4 separate regions of the Homo sapiens genome follow, and regions 2, 3 and 4 are each linked to region 1. The links are contacts of gene promoters, found by promoter capture Hi-C in human tissues and cell types (Jung and others, 2019). All regions are on one chromosome and are shown on one strand. The core of a region is centred on a gene start or on the middle of the fragment in contact, and the rest is flanking DNA. Distances in the headings are between cores, read along the strand shown. Region 1 holds the start of CCL22 (C-C motif chemokine ligand 22). Region 2 overlaps CIAPIN1 (cytokine induced apoptosis inhibitor 1). Region 3 holds the start of POLR2C (RNA polymerase II subunit C). Region 4 overlaps RSPRY1 (ring finger and SPRY domain containing 1).

The links. Contacts are between HindIII fragments. The study calls those that stand out against the background at their distance.
Region 2: a contact is called between a fragment that was not itself captured here and the fragment with the promoter of CCL22 in region 1, in 4 of the 25 tissues and cell types used here (IMR-90 fibroblasts, lymphoblastoid cells, neural progenitor cells and 1 more).
Region 3: the fragment with the promoter of POLR2C here is called in contact with the fragment with the promoter of CCL22 in region 1 in 2 of the 25 tissues and cell types used here (lymphoblastoid cells and mesenchymal stem cells).
Region 4: a contact is called between a fragment that was not itself captured here and the fragment with the promoter of CCL22 in region 1, in 2 of the 25 tissues and cell types used here (IMR-90 fibroblasts and aorta).

Annotation. Positions count from the first base shown.
Region 1 is chr16:57,357,379-57,360,078 of GRCh38, forward strand. CCL22 (C-C motif chemokine ligand 22) reads left to right here and starts at 1,405. Exons shown (of 3, transcript NM_002990.5): 1 at 1,405-1,511. The coding sequence starts at 1,439. The HindIII fragment of the contact is 38,120 bases long and covers 1-2,700 here.
Region 2 is chr16:57,432,347-57,435,046 of GRCh38, forward strand. It overlaps CIAPIN1 (cytokine induced apoptosis inhibitor 1), which reads right to left. Exons shown (of 9, transcript NM_020313.4): 5 at 1,698-1,866; 6 at 141-214. Among named protein-coding and RNA genes, the nearest start is that of CIAPIN1, 14 kb to the right of the region's middle. The HindIII fragment of the contact is 7,381 bases long and covers 1-2,700 here.
Region 3 is chr16:57,461,375-57,464,074 of GRCh38, forward strand. POLR2C (RNA polymerase II subunit C) reads left to right here and starts at 1,305. Exons shown (of 9, transcript NM_032940.3): 1 at 1,305-1,436; 2 at 1,655-1,704. The coding sequence starts at 1,351. RefSeq lists an enhancer at 1,163-1,457. The HindIII fragment of the contact is 18,274 bases long and covers 1-2,700 here.
Region 4 is chr16:57,230,966-57,233,665 of GRCh38, forward strand. RSPRY1 (ring finger and SPRY domain containing 1) reads left to right here. Exons shown (of 15, transcript NM_133368.3): 13 at 202-354. Among named protein-coding and RNA genes, the nearest start is that of ARL2BP, 13 kb to the right of the region's middle. The HindIII fragment of the contact is 8,140 bases long and covers 1-2,700 here.

The sequences.
Region 1 (2,700 bases), core at 155-2,654:
TTTGTATTTTTGGTAGAGATGGGGTTTCTCCATGTTGGCCAGGCTGGTCTTGAACTCCTGACCTCAGGTGATCCACCTGCCTGGGCCTTCCAAAGTGCTGGGATTACAGTCATGAATCACTGCACCCAGCCCATGTGTTCTGAGCACCCAACATGTGCCTGATCCTCAGAGGGCCCTGGGAATGCCAAGAAAAATGAAGGGAGACCCCAGCCTCCTAGAGCTTGGAGTCTGACTTCTAGGGAGGGGCTTGAGAAAGAGAAAACCTGACCCAGTCTGCTCAGGGCCACATTCCAGGTCCCCTAGAAGGCTTTGAAGTCCTGAGAGGGTGTGCTTACCAAGGACATGACATTTCAAACAGCTTTGACGCATAAGTAGGAGTTTATGTGGTAGAGATGTGGAAAGTGACATTAAAGGCCAGGGACAGGCCGCAGTCCCTTTTGAGGAAGTGTGAGGAGTGTGGTGTGATCCCTCAGGGGAAGGAGACCAGTGGGGAAAGGCCTGTCCGGAAACGGGGCCTTGAAGGCCACAGACAGGAGCCCGGGACCTGCCTTTAGGTGAATGGGGAGCCACGGCAGGGTTCTGAAGCAGGAGAGAGAGTGTGTAGCTCTGGACCACTCACGCTGGCTGCTGCAGGGTGGGGATGGCATTGAGGAGGCCAGCATCCCAGCCTGAGGTGGAGGTGGCCTGGACTGGGCAGGAACAGTGGGGTTGGAGAGAAGGAGCAGATCTGAGAGAGATTTAGGAAGCAGAATCAACGGGACATGGACATGGTGAGGGACTGAGACAGGAGTGGGGGAGGGAGAGCCCGGCAGCCACTGGGAAGGAAGATCAGGCAGGACAGAAGTGTGGGTAGATGCTTTCCATAAACCGTTGAGAAATCCACGACCTGGCCCAAATGTGGACTTCACGAGAAGCCCCAGATGGGTCAATGGGTCCATAGGCCTCTCCCATTGAAGAGAGACCAGTAATGCCGTCATTAAGGGTACAAGACAGGCCTCAATTCTAGGTGAGGGTTGGTCCACGTTCTCACTTGATTTACAACCAGTGAAGTCAACAGAGCTGTGAAACCATCTCCCCCATTTCCAGATGGGGAAACCAAGTCCCAGAGACACCCAGACATGGCCAAGGCCACACAGTGCAGAGACCCTGGGGAGCACAAGCCTCTAAGAGGGGGATTTTACAAGTCTGTCTGAAACCAGAGGCGAGGACAGAGTTGAGGGGGGGTCCCCTCTGAGTGGTTCCCCGCCAAAGAGAATTTCTCCACTTTGGAGGAAGTGGGAGGTAGTTCTTCTTTTGAGATGTGAATGTCAAGTGACTCTGGGCACCCCGGTGACTAAGAGGTAAGTAAGTGAGGCTTGTGGGTGGAGCCAGCACCTTAAATAGCAGGTCTTCCTATGTCCCTTTGCAGACACCTGGGCTGAGACATACAGGACAGAGCATGGATCGCCTACAGACTGCACTCCTGGTTGTCCTCGTCCTCCTTGCTGTGGCGCTTCAAGCAACTGAGGCAGGTGAGGCTGGGGAGCAGGAAGACCCCCTACAGAGGCCAGGGCAGACGGTGGGGTGTCTTCCTCATGTCTTGGACAAGCACTGGACCAAGAGCAGAAGACCTCAGTCTGCTGTTGGCTCTTGCGGCCTTCGGCTAGTTGCAGTGCTTCTCTGGGCCTCAGTTTACAAGTCTGTTGAATGGGCAGTCTTGAAGACTTGGAGTCTAGGATCTGTCTCACCTGGGTTGGGGGTTGTGGTGGGCATAGCCTCGGGATCTCCTGCCCCAGAAAACTCAAGCATAGGGCCCTAGGGGTGTGGGTGAGGAGCTTCTAAGGGTCAGGTCTGAGTGGGGGAAGGCAGGGCTGGGGCAAGGGGTTCTCCCTTGGAAAGCTGGTGCTGCCCTCCCACCATCCATTTTTTAAAATGTTATTATTATTATTTTTTATTTTATTTTATTTTATTTTTTGAGACACAGTTTCACTCTTGTTGCCCAGGATGGAGTGCAGTGGGGCAATCTTGGCCCACTGCAACCTCTACCTCCCAGGTTCAAGCGATTCTCCTGCCTCAGCCTCCTGAGTAGCTGGGATTACAGGCATGCACCACCACACCTGGCTAATTTTTGTATTTTTAGTGGAGACAGGGTTTCACCATGTTGGCCAGGCTGGTCTCAAACTCCTGACCTCAGATGATCCTCCCACCTCAGCCTCCCAAAGTGCTGGGATTACAGGCATGAGCCACTGCGTCTAGCCTAAATTTATTTTTTATTTCATTTTATTTATTTATTTTTTGAGATGGAGTCTCTGTTGCCCAGGCTGGAGTGCAGTGGCGCAATCTCAGCTCACTGCAACCTCCACCTCTGGAGTTAAAGTGATTCTCCTGCCTCAGCCTCCTGAGTAGCTGGGATTACAGGCACCTGCCACCATGCCCGGCTAATTTTTGTATTTTTAGTAAAGATGGGGTTTCACCATGCTGACCGGTCTTGTCTCGAACTCCTGACCTCAAGTGAAACTCCCATCTTGGCCTCCCTAAGTGTTAGGATTACAGGCGTGAGCCACTGCTCTGGGCTCACTATCCATTTTTGTCCAGAACCTGTCCTCAGCATGGATTCCTGACTCCTCTTCTCCACCCCACTCTATACTTTTGCTGTGTTGGGTGGAGGAGTGAGCACTGGAGTGGGGTCAGGCAGCTATAAACAAGAATTGCTCCCAGCTG
Region 2 (2,700 bases), core at 168-2,667, 75 kb after region 1:
ATCAAAGATGTGACAGGCATAGTCACAAATCTGGGCTTTAAATACGTTCACACCTACAAGTCCAGAAAGGTCACTATAGCTGTTCACACCCAAACTGGGGCCTGAAAGAAAGCAATCAAGTGACAATGCTGCCAGCTCACCATGCTGTCGTCCTCCATATCGTTGGCTGAGAGGGTCCACAGCTTGGCAGCAGCAGGGTCCACAGCAGGTTTCACTGAGTCCAAGCAATAAAAGAAAAAACTCCATAAACACAGTCAGAAACTATTAATTACAAACATACATAAATGCTTCCTGCTGTGTAGAAGAGAACACACTGGCCTGGGAGGCAGAAGATGTGGGTTCACAGTCCAGCTCTACCCCTCTGAGAGGTCTGACCTTGGGCCAACCACTTGCTGATAGTTACAGAAGTCACCATTTGCTAAGCTCTTGCTTTGCACCAGGCACCATATTAAGCACTTATATACATTATCTAACTTAATTCTGCTGACAACCTTATGAGGTAACTATCTGTCATCCTACTTTTACCGCTGAGGAAACAGGTTTAGACACTTAGGCTGGTTCCACAGGCTGCAAAGCCTGTCTGATGCTTTTAACCTCCATTCCATATTGCTTCCTCCTCGATACCTTAGTTTCCATTCTATAACATGAAGTTAAATTGTACTTCCTATGTTACTGCAGGTGTTTTGAGGATTAAATGAGAAATGTGTCAAAACCTTCAAAAATAGCAGAGCTTTAGCCTCATGTAAACCTGCTACATACAAGAAAATAGGCTCTAGAGCTGCTGGTGGCAAGGTAACACCATCAGTGGCAGACAAACCTCACACTTCCTGGTTCTCTGTCTAGTCAGGAGAATGCAAGGAAGAGGCAGAGAGCTGAGGCTCGGATGCAGTGTGGGCAAATCCTCGCAGGCCCTTGGGGTAAGAGTACCCTCTAGTGATCATTGTCACAGCTGGATGCTCATACCTTCCACAAGGCCAACTGTTCTAAGCTATTCCTACCCATTCTGGAACCATGAATCGAAAGGTTAGATTCCAAAGGATTTCTTGAAGATTTAGGTTAGACAGTCAAAACCGTACAAGTGGGAATGTACCAGTAAATATCTGTTAATGTCTGCATACCTCACAGCTGGGTCAATTCAGGCATTTAAAAATAGGGATAGGAAGGATGAGGATGGAGCTGTGTGTGTGTGTGTGTGTGCGTGCGCGTGCGTGCACGCGTGTGCTTGTACACAATTTTCTAGTCAGAAGAAATATAGTTTTATAAGTGTCTTAGCATCCTCAAAGTAAGAACAGCTGATTTTCCTGGCATGGGGAAAAAAGCACATGAGAACAGGAACAGGGCACTCTCATACACCATTACCACTACACTGTGAGGTCTTCTGAGGAGAAACGTTAATTCTGGGACCTGGAAGGACCTCATTAATTAAACTGTGTGACTCAGTCCTGTAAAATTAGGAGGCCTCGGTATCTTCTGGTGCAGAAGAAGGAGCTGAACTAGATAATACCTATGTATTATTTCAGTTTTGGATCCTAATATGCCCATGATAATAGTACATTAAGTATTCTTCTTTGTGGAAATGGCAGAAATCAAAGGACTAATCCTCTAAAAATATCACCATCTCATTTATTGCTGGCTCAATTTCTAACATGTCCCTCTAAGCCCATTCAAACAGAAGAATGTCCCTAGGCCAGCCTTACCTGAAGGAGAAGACTTCTTGGTGATGGAAAGCTTAAGCTGCCTAGAAGAACCCACTTCAAAGTTTGGTTTTTTGCCTGTGATCTGAACAAACAGCAGGTTGTCACTTTCATGACCAAGGTGTTCTCGAACAGACTGTACTTCCTCAGGGGTTAGGGGCTCCCGCTGCAGCTAGAATTCAAGACATCAAAAGGATTAGTTCACCCTCCTCTGTAAAATGGTTTACTATGTCTACCTACACAGGAGTCAAAGACTCATTTCTGTGCATTAAGGATGTAACAGTGGATGGTAACAGATAACACTTTATGCCTCACATTCAGTTTCTCACTGATCAGAACCCTAGAGTATAACCTTTGTCTGCATGTTTACTTGGAGCCTACCCCTTGGAAAATGTAAAAGTACTTAAAAAACATTAGGGATGAGGCATATACTAGTTATTTGGGATGTAATACAATTATGAAAATGAACCAGATGTGGTCCTACTGTGTAACAGGAAAGAATGCCCACAATGAAGACAGCAGAAATTTATATCCCAAAAGAAAAAGGGGGAGGAAAATCCTTTCTATGTTCCTTGGGATAAAGTAGCAGAGAGTAAAGGTAGAAAAAAAGGGTCAGGGTGCCACCTCTATGTCCAATAATTATAGACTGGTTACATAAATCACAGTCCATCTATTGTATGGAATACTATTACATCATTAATATGAATGAAGGGAAATACACTGAAGTAGGTAAGTGTCTATGATATCTAAGGGTGGGAAAAAAGGTGATTGAACAATGTATACTTATGATCTTATTTACATTTTTAAAAAAGTATGTGCATGTAGATGCTTGTAAATACATAGGAAAAGGTCTGAACGGACATACAAAAAGGCATTGGTGGCTTCCTCTGGGGAGGGAAGTGTGAGCAAGAAGTGGGATGTCACTTTATATTCTGTATGCTTTGGTGTAAAGTGAATTTTTATGAGGAGTCTGATATAGTTTGGATATGTGTCCCCTCTAAATCTC
Region 3 (2,700 bases), core at 55-2,554, 100 kb after region 1:
CCACTGCCTAATACATAGTGGTAATTATAGTACCTCTGCGTCTCTGGGCTCAAGTCTTCCCATCAGTAAAATACGGGTAACAGAAGCCTTCCCACAGACCATCAGCTCCCTTGGCTGCTCTTGTCTGACGATTTTAGTGGTACATTCTTTAGCCCCAGTAATTTTCTCAGCCTCTACACTGGCTGGGTTCCCTTTGCACGTCTGGTTAGCTCTGTTTTCTGCTTTGCTCTCTTCTGCCTGTCAGCTGAATATTAATGGGGGAAAGTCAGCAACTAATTGAATTTCAGATCTCTTGTGGGTCTTCCACTGGATCTTTTTTGCACCTCTCAATTCCTTGTATCTCTTGACATCCTGTGAAGTTTTCGCAGTAGCTGTTCCAGTTTTCATTGCATTCTCCTTTTTCCTTCATAGCATCCATCTTACACTCAGCAGACAACCATAATTCTTAATTTACCAAGATGACACAGGTTATGGAGCAGGGTTCCATCAGTGCCCACCCTCTGTTTCAGGAAGAGGTGTCACTCTTTGCAAAGGCAAACTCCTCTTTATCTGGTTACTCTTCTCCCAACTCTTAAATGTATTTCCTGCCACGTTCTATTTTAGAGCTTTTCTCTGTTGGAGCAGCAGCCACTTTTTTTGAGGCCCATTTAAACCTCTCTCCAGTCTGTTTAGGGGACTTCAGTAGTTCTTTGTTGAGCATGCACCCCACATGGTGCCCACTGCCAGGCACTGGGGATGCAGAGACAAAGAGTTCCCACTCACCCACCACAGCTACACAGACTGTAGAGGAAGCATTAGGTTAAAGAACATTGTATCTTTTCCTGAAGTTTTCAGAAGTGCATGGTCCATACTTGAGACTGCAAGGGAAAGGGTATTTACTTATAATTCAGGTATACTTTGCTAAAATATACATTCATATTAAAATATACTTTTGTTTTTCTATAGATGTACAAGTTCTTTTTAAGTGCTTCATAGTATTCCATGTGTGTATACTCCACCAGGTCTCTTATCAATGGACAGTACAAACAGTACTACCACGAACGTCCCTGCACTCGTATCTTTGTTTACAACTGCAAGTGTTTCTGCAGTATGAATTCTTAGAAGTGTTACTGTTAAGTGAAGGACGTATGCGTGTTTTGCCAAACTACCCTCCGAGATAGCTGAATCTGGTACATTTTAAAGCAGGAGGCCGCAGAAGACGCTCGGCAGTTCTGGCCTCCGAGCAGCAGGCGGCGCTGTGAGTCGTCTTTGCGGAAGCCGCGGAGGCCTCGCTGACTGACTTCCGGTGTTGGCGGTGGCGCCGCGCAGTCACCGCGGAGCAGACGCGGAGGCTGGTGGCCCCTGGGCGAGATGCCGTACGCCAACCAGCCTACCGTGCGGATCACGGAGCTCACTGACGAGAATGTCAAGTTCATCATCGAGAACACCGACCTGGCGTAAGGCTACCGAGGGAAGAGGCTGGCGGCTCTGGGGCGCCGGGAGGCCCAAGCCGGGGCCCCGGGGCAGGGGGCGGGGGTGTAGTGGGGTGGGGTGGGGGCGATGTCCTTCCAGAGCTGCCCCCCTGCACCAGGGCTTTAGCTTTGGGAGCCTGCGGCGCGGGCCCAGCCTGTCGAGGCTGCAGCGCCTTCACGCCCCTTGGCTTTTGATCTTTCAGGGTGGCCAATTCGATTCGGAGGGTCTTCATCGCTGAGGTTCCCATAATAGGTAAGCGACTCCCCTTCCTCGTTCCCGCGCCCACGGGTTCCTGCCCCGCTCTCCACCCACACACTCTTTGGGGCTCCTTCCAGTCCTTGGTTCGGGCTGAGGGTGGTAGTGCTGAGAAAAGTGCATTGCTGGAGACTTGACCATACCCTGTGCCCTTGGCTCAGTGGCCGCCTCCCTGGCGCCCACGGGCCACTTAGGTCCACCCTTGTCCTGGGTATGCATTGCTGAGAAGCATGGGTTTAGCAGTGTGCAGACTTGGGTTCAAATACTGTTTTCACTACTATTGTTACAAAAGTTTTTAAAATGTTTTCAACTTTTATTTTGGAGTCAAGGGGTACATTGGTGCAGGTTTGTTGCCTGGGTATAGTGCGTGATGCTGAGATTTGGGGTATAAATGATCCTTTCACCCAGGTAGTGAGCATAGTACGCAATAGGTAGTTTTTCACCCCTAGCCCCACTGCCTCCCTTCCAGCTCTAGTAGTCACCAGTGTGTTTATTGTCATCTTTATGTCCGTGCGTACCCAGTTTTAGCTCCCATGCGGTGTTTGGTTTTCTGTTCCTGTGTTAATTCTCTTAGGATAATGGCTTCCAGGCCGCGCTCGCGCCTGTAATTCCAGCACTTTGGGAGGCCAAGACTGAGGAACACCTGAGGCCAGGAGTTTGAGACCAGCCTGGCCAACATGGGGAAAGCCCGCCTCTACTAAAAATGCAAAAATTAGCCAGGTGTGGTGGCTCCCACCTGTAATCCCAGCTACTGGGGAGGCTGAGGCAGAATTGATTGAACCCAGAAGGTGGAGGTTGCAGTGAGCCGAGATCATGCCACTGCACTCTGGCCTGGGCAATAGAGTGAGACTCCTTCTCAAACAAAAGAAAATAAAAAAGAAGATAGTGGCTTCCAGCCACGTCCATGTTGCTGCAGAGGACATGATTTCGTTCGTTCTTATGGCTGCATCACTTACTGCTTTTGTGAAACTTGGGCAAGTTATTAAACTTCTG
Region 4 (2,700 bases), core at 68-2,567, 130 kb before region 1:
CTATCCCAAAGTTTGATACAGGAAGATAAGGCAGAATATTCTCTAGTCACAGACCTGTGTGGGTTATAAACACAGTCTGTCACTCTTCCTTTCTGCCAGGGTAGGATTGACTCACCCTGCCTTTCTGAAAACTGTTCTATCTATTAACTCTATTTTGATTTTTATTAATTCTATTGGCCTCTGTACTCATTTTATTTGTAGATCTGGATTTTTTGCTGCAGCTAGTTTCATGTCATATCAACAATGTGAGTTCAATTTTGGAGCAAAACCATTCAAATACCCACCATCTATGAAATTTAGCACTTTTAATGACTACGCCTTCCTAACAGCTGAAGAAAAAATCATTTTGCCAAGGTAAGGAATCTGCCCAGGCTATCTCCAGACTTTCACATGAATCTTATGAGAAATTAAACAATTTATAATCAACGTTAAAAGAATATAACAAATAAATTTTGAAAACCTGAGTAAAATGGATGACTTTTCAGGAAATATAAATTTCTAAGATCGCAGAAGAAATATACACAAACCAATTATTGTATATATCTGTCCCTAGAAAGCACCAGACCCAGGTGGTTTCACAGGGGATCTCTACCAAATCTTTAGGTAACAGATAACCTTATTGTTATTTAAAATGTTACCAAACCCAGAAAGACGGAACACTTTCAAATTTTTTTTGTGAGATAAATAAGATTGGTATAAAAATCAGAAAAATATGACACATGCACACAAACTGCAAACTAACTTCACGTGAATGTCAGTGTCAAAATCCTAAATATTAGGAAATCTAGTACATCTTTTAGCAGACTCGGCTTTATTGAAACAGACTTTTTATGTGGTTTCAACTGTGTGGCAAAGATGACAACACTGTTCCACAACCATCAGTGAATACCATCTTGCATAAAATTTTACAGCCCTTATTTGACAAAAACTGTGATTGGCATTAATTTATCAGATGAATGCCTGCTTTACTTCCTTGTGAGATGAATGTAGTCTATTCCTTAGGCTGGGGAAAGACTCCAGCTGCTTCCTGGTAATTACTTCAAGTTGAAGCTTGTTTCACAATGTGAGCTAAAGTTTATCATTTTAAACAGAGCAGCTGCCTGTTTAAAGGGTATTCCTGTTACTAATACCACATATCTTATATCAGTAAGAGAGTCTCTCTCAGCAGCCAAGGCCAGCATACTGGCCATGACATAGCTAATGTCGGACTGGTATGCCCCTGAAGATATCTGTAACGTAATCCTAGCTCTTGTTTTGGCTCAAAAAGCAGATCTGCAAGCAGTGCTCTGGGCTGTGCTTCACCTTGGAATCACTGTCTCAGTGGTTCAATAGTTTCCAGATGAACTAGAAAATGGGACGATGATGGTAGTGTTGTCTGCAGATGGTAACACTGGCAGCAGAGCCTCAGTAATAGCCCAAGAACATAAGGGTTGCATATGTTCCCGCTCAGGGTTCTGAGGTTAATTCCTAGAACTTTTCATTCAGGCTCATCCTTGGTGCCTGACAGAGATTCTGAACTTTAAATTCCTCTTGGCCAAAGTCTGAGGGGACACCTCTCCCTTATCTATCATACCCCGTTCTTTTTCATCTAGCCTGCCTTTTCCTTGGATGAAGCCCACAAATAAGTCTTCTCACATATACCCTAAAAGGGACAATTGATCCATCTAAGTTCCCATGGGGACTGGACATAGTTAAAATGCTTCAGCATTTAGTTAACTGCTCCTGCAGAATTAAACCTTCCCAAACTCAGATGGCAATGGGCATCAACTATCAGAAAGTCTCATTTTATGGGCAGCTTATACATACTCTCTTGGTAACCATGTATATAAATTTGGTACCCAAAGTTCGTCTTGTCTTGAATAAGAACAGCTGAATTCCAAGCTAGGTCAATCCTATGCTGTCTCTAGACTGTTTTCTCTGATAGTAACAAGAAGATATAGTTGTCAGGAGCCTAACTGAGTGGCCACCTTAGTGCCAACCTCCTTCTTGCACCTTGCTGCCCTTAACATTCCAGTTGTGCTTAATTATAAATTGTGGCATTAAGTATGAACTTACTTGAGACCATTTTCTGTGCCATTAATATTTTCATCCTGTGTTCCAAAAATGTATATTCAGTGATACTTTATATTCATTGGAATATTACTCCTTTCTGGCATCAGGGTAGGAGCTCATGGCCCTGTTACTACTAACTGGGATTTTATAAATTGTTCTGTGTTGTATATACTCTCTGTCTGTAATTCTTCCATTCATTCTTTTTTTCTTTAACCTTTTTATTATGGAAAATTTCAAATACATACAGAAGAAAAAAATAATAGTACAGTGAAGCACCACATACCCACTCTCAGCTACAAGTCATCCACTCACAGCCACTGCTTCTCCCTCAGTCTTCTCTCATCTCTGTTTTTTTAATTTTTATTTTTTATTTTTTGAGACAGGGTCTCACTCTGTTGCCCAGGAGTGTGGTGGCACAATCTCAGGTCATTGCAACCTCCATCTCCCAGGCTCAAGCGATCCTCCCACCTCAGCCTCCTGAGTAGCTGGGACTACAGGCATGCCAACACACCCAGCTAATTTTTGTATTATTTGTAGAGACTGGGTTTCGCCATGTTGCCCAGGCTGGTCTCGAACTCTTGGGTTCAAGCCATCTGCCTGCCTCGGCCTCCCAAAGTGCTGGGATTACAGGCGTGAGCCACTGTGCCT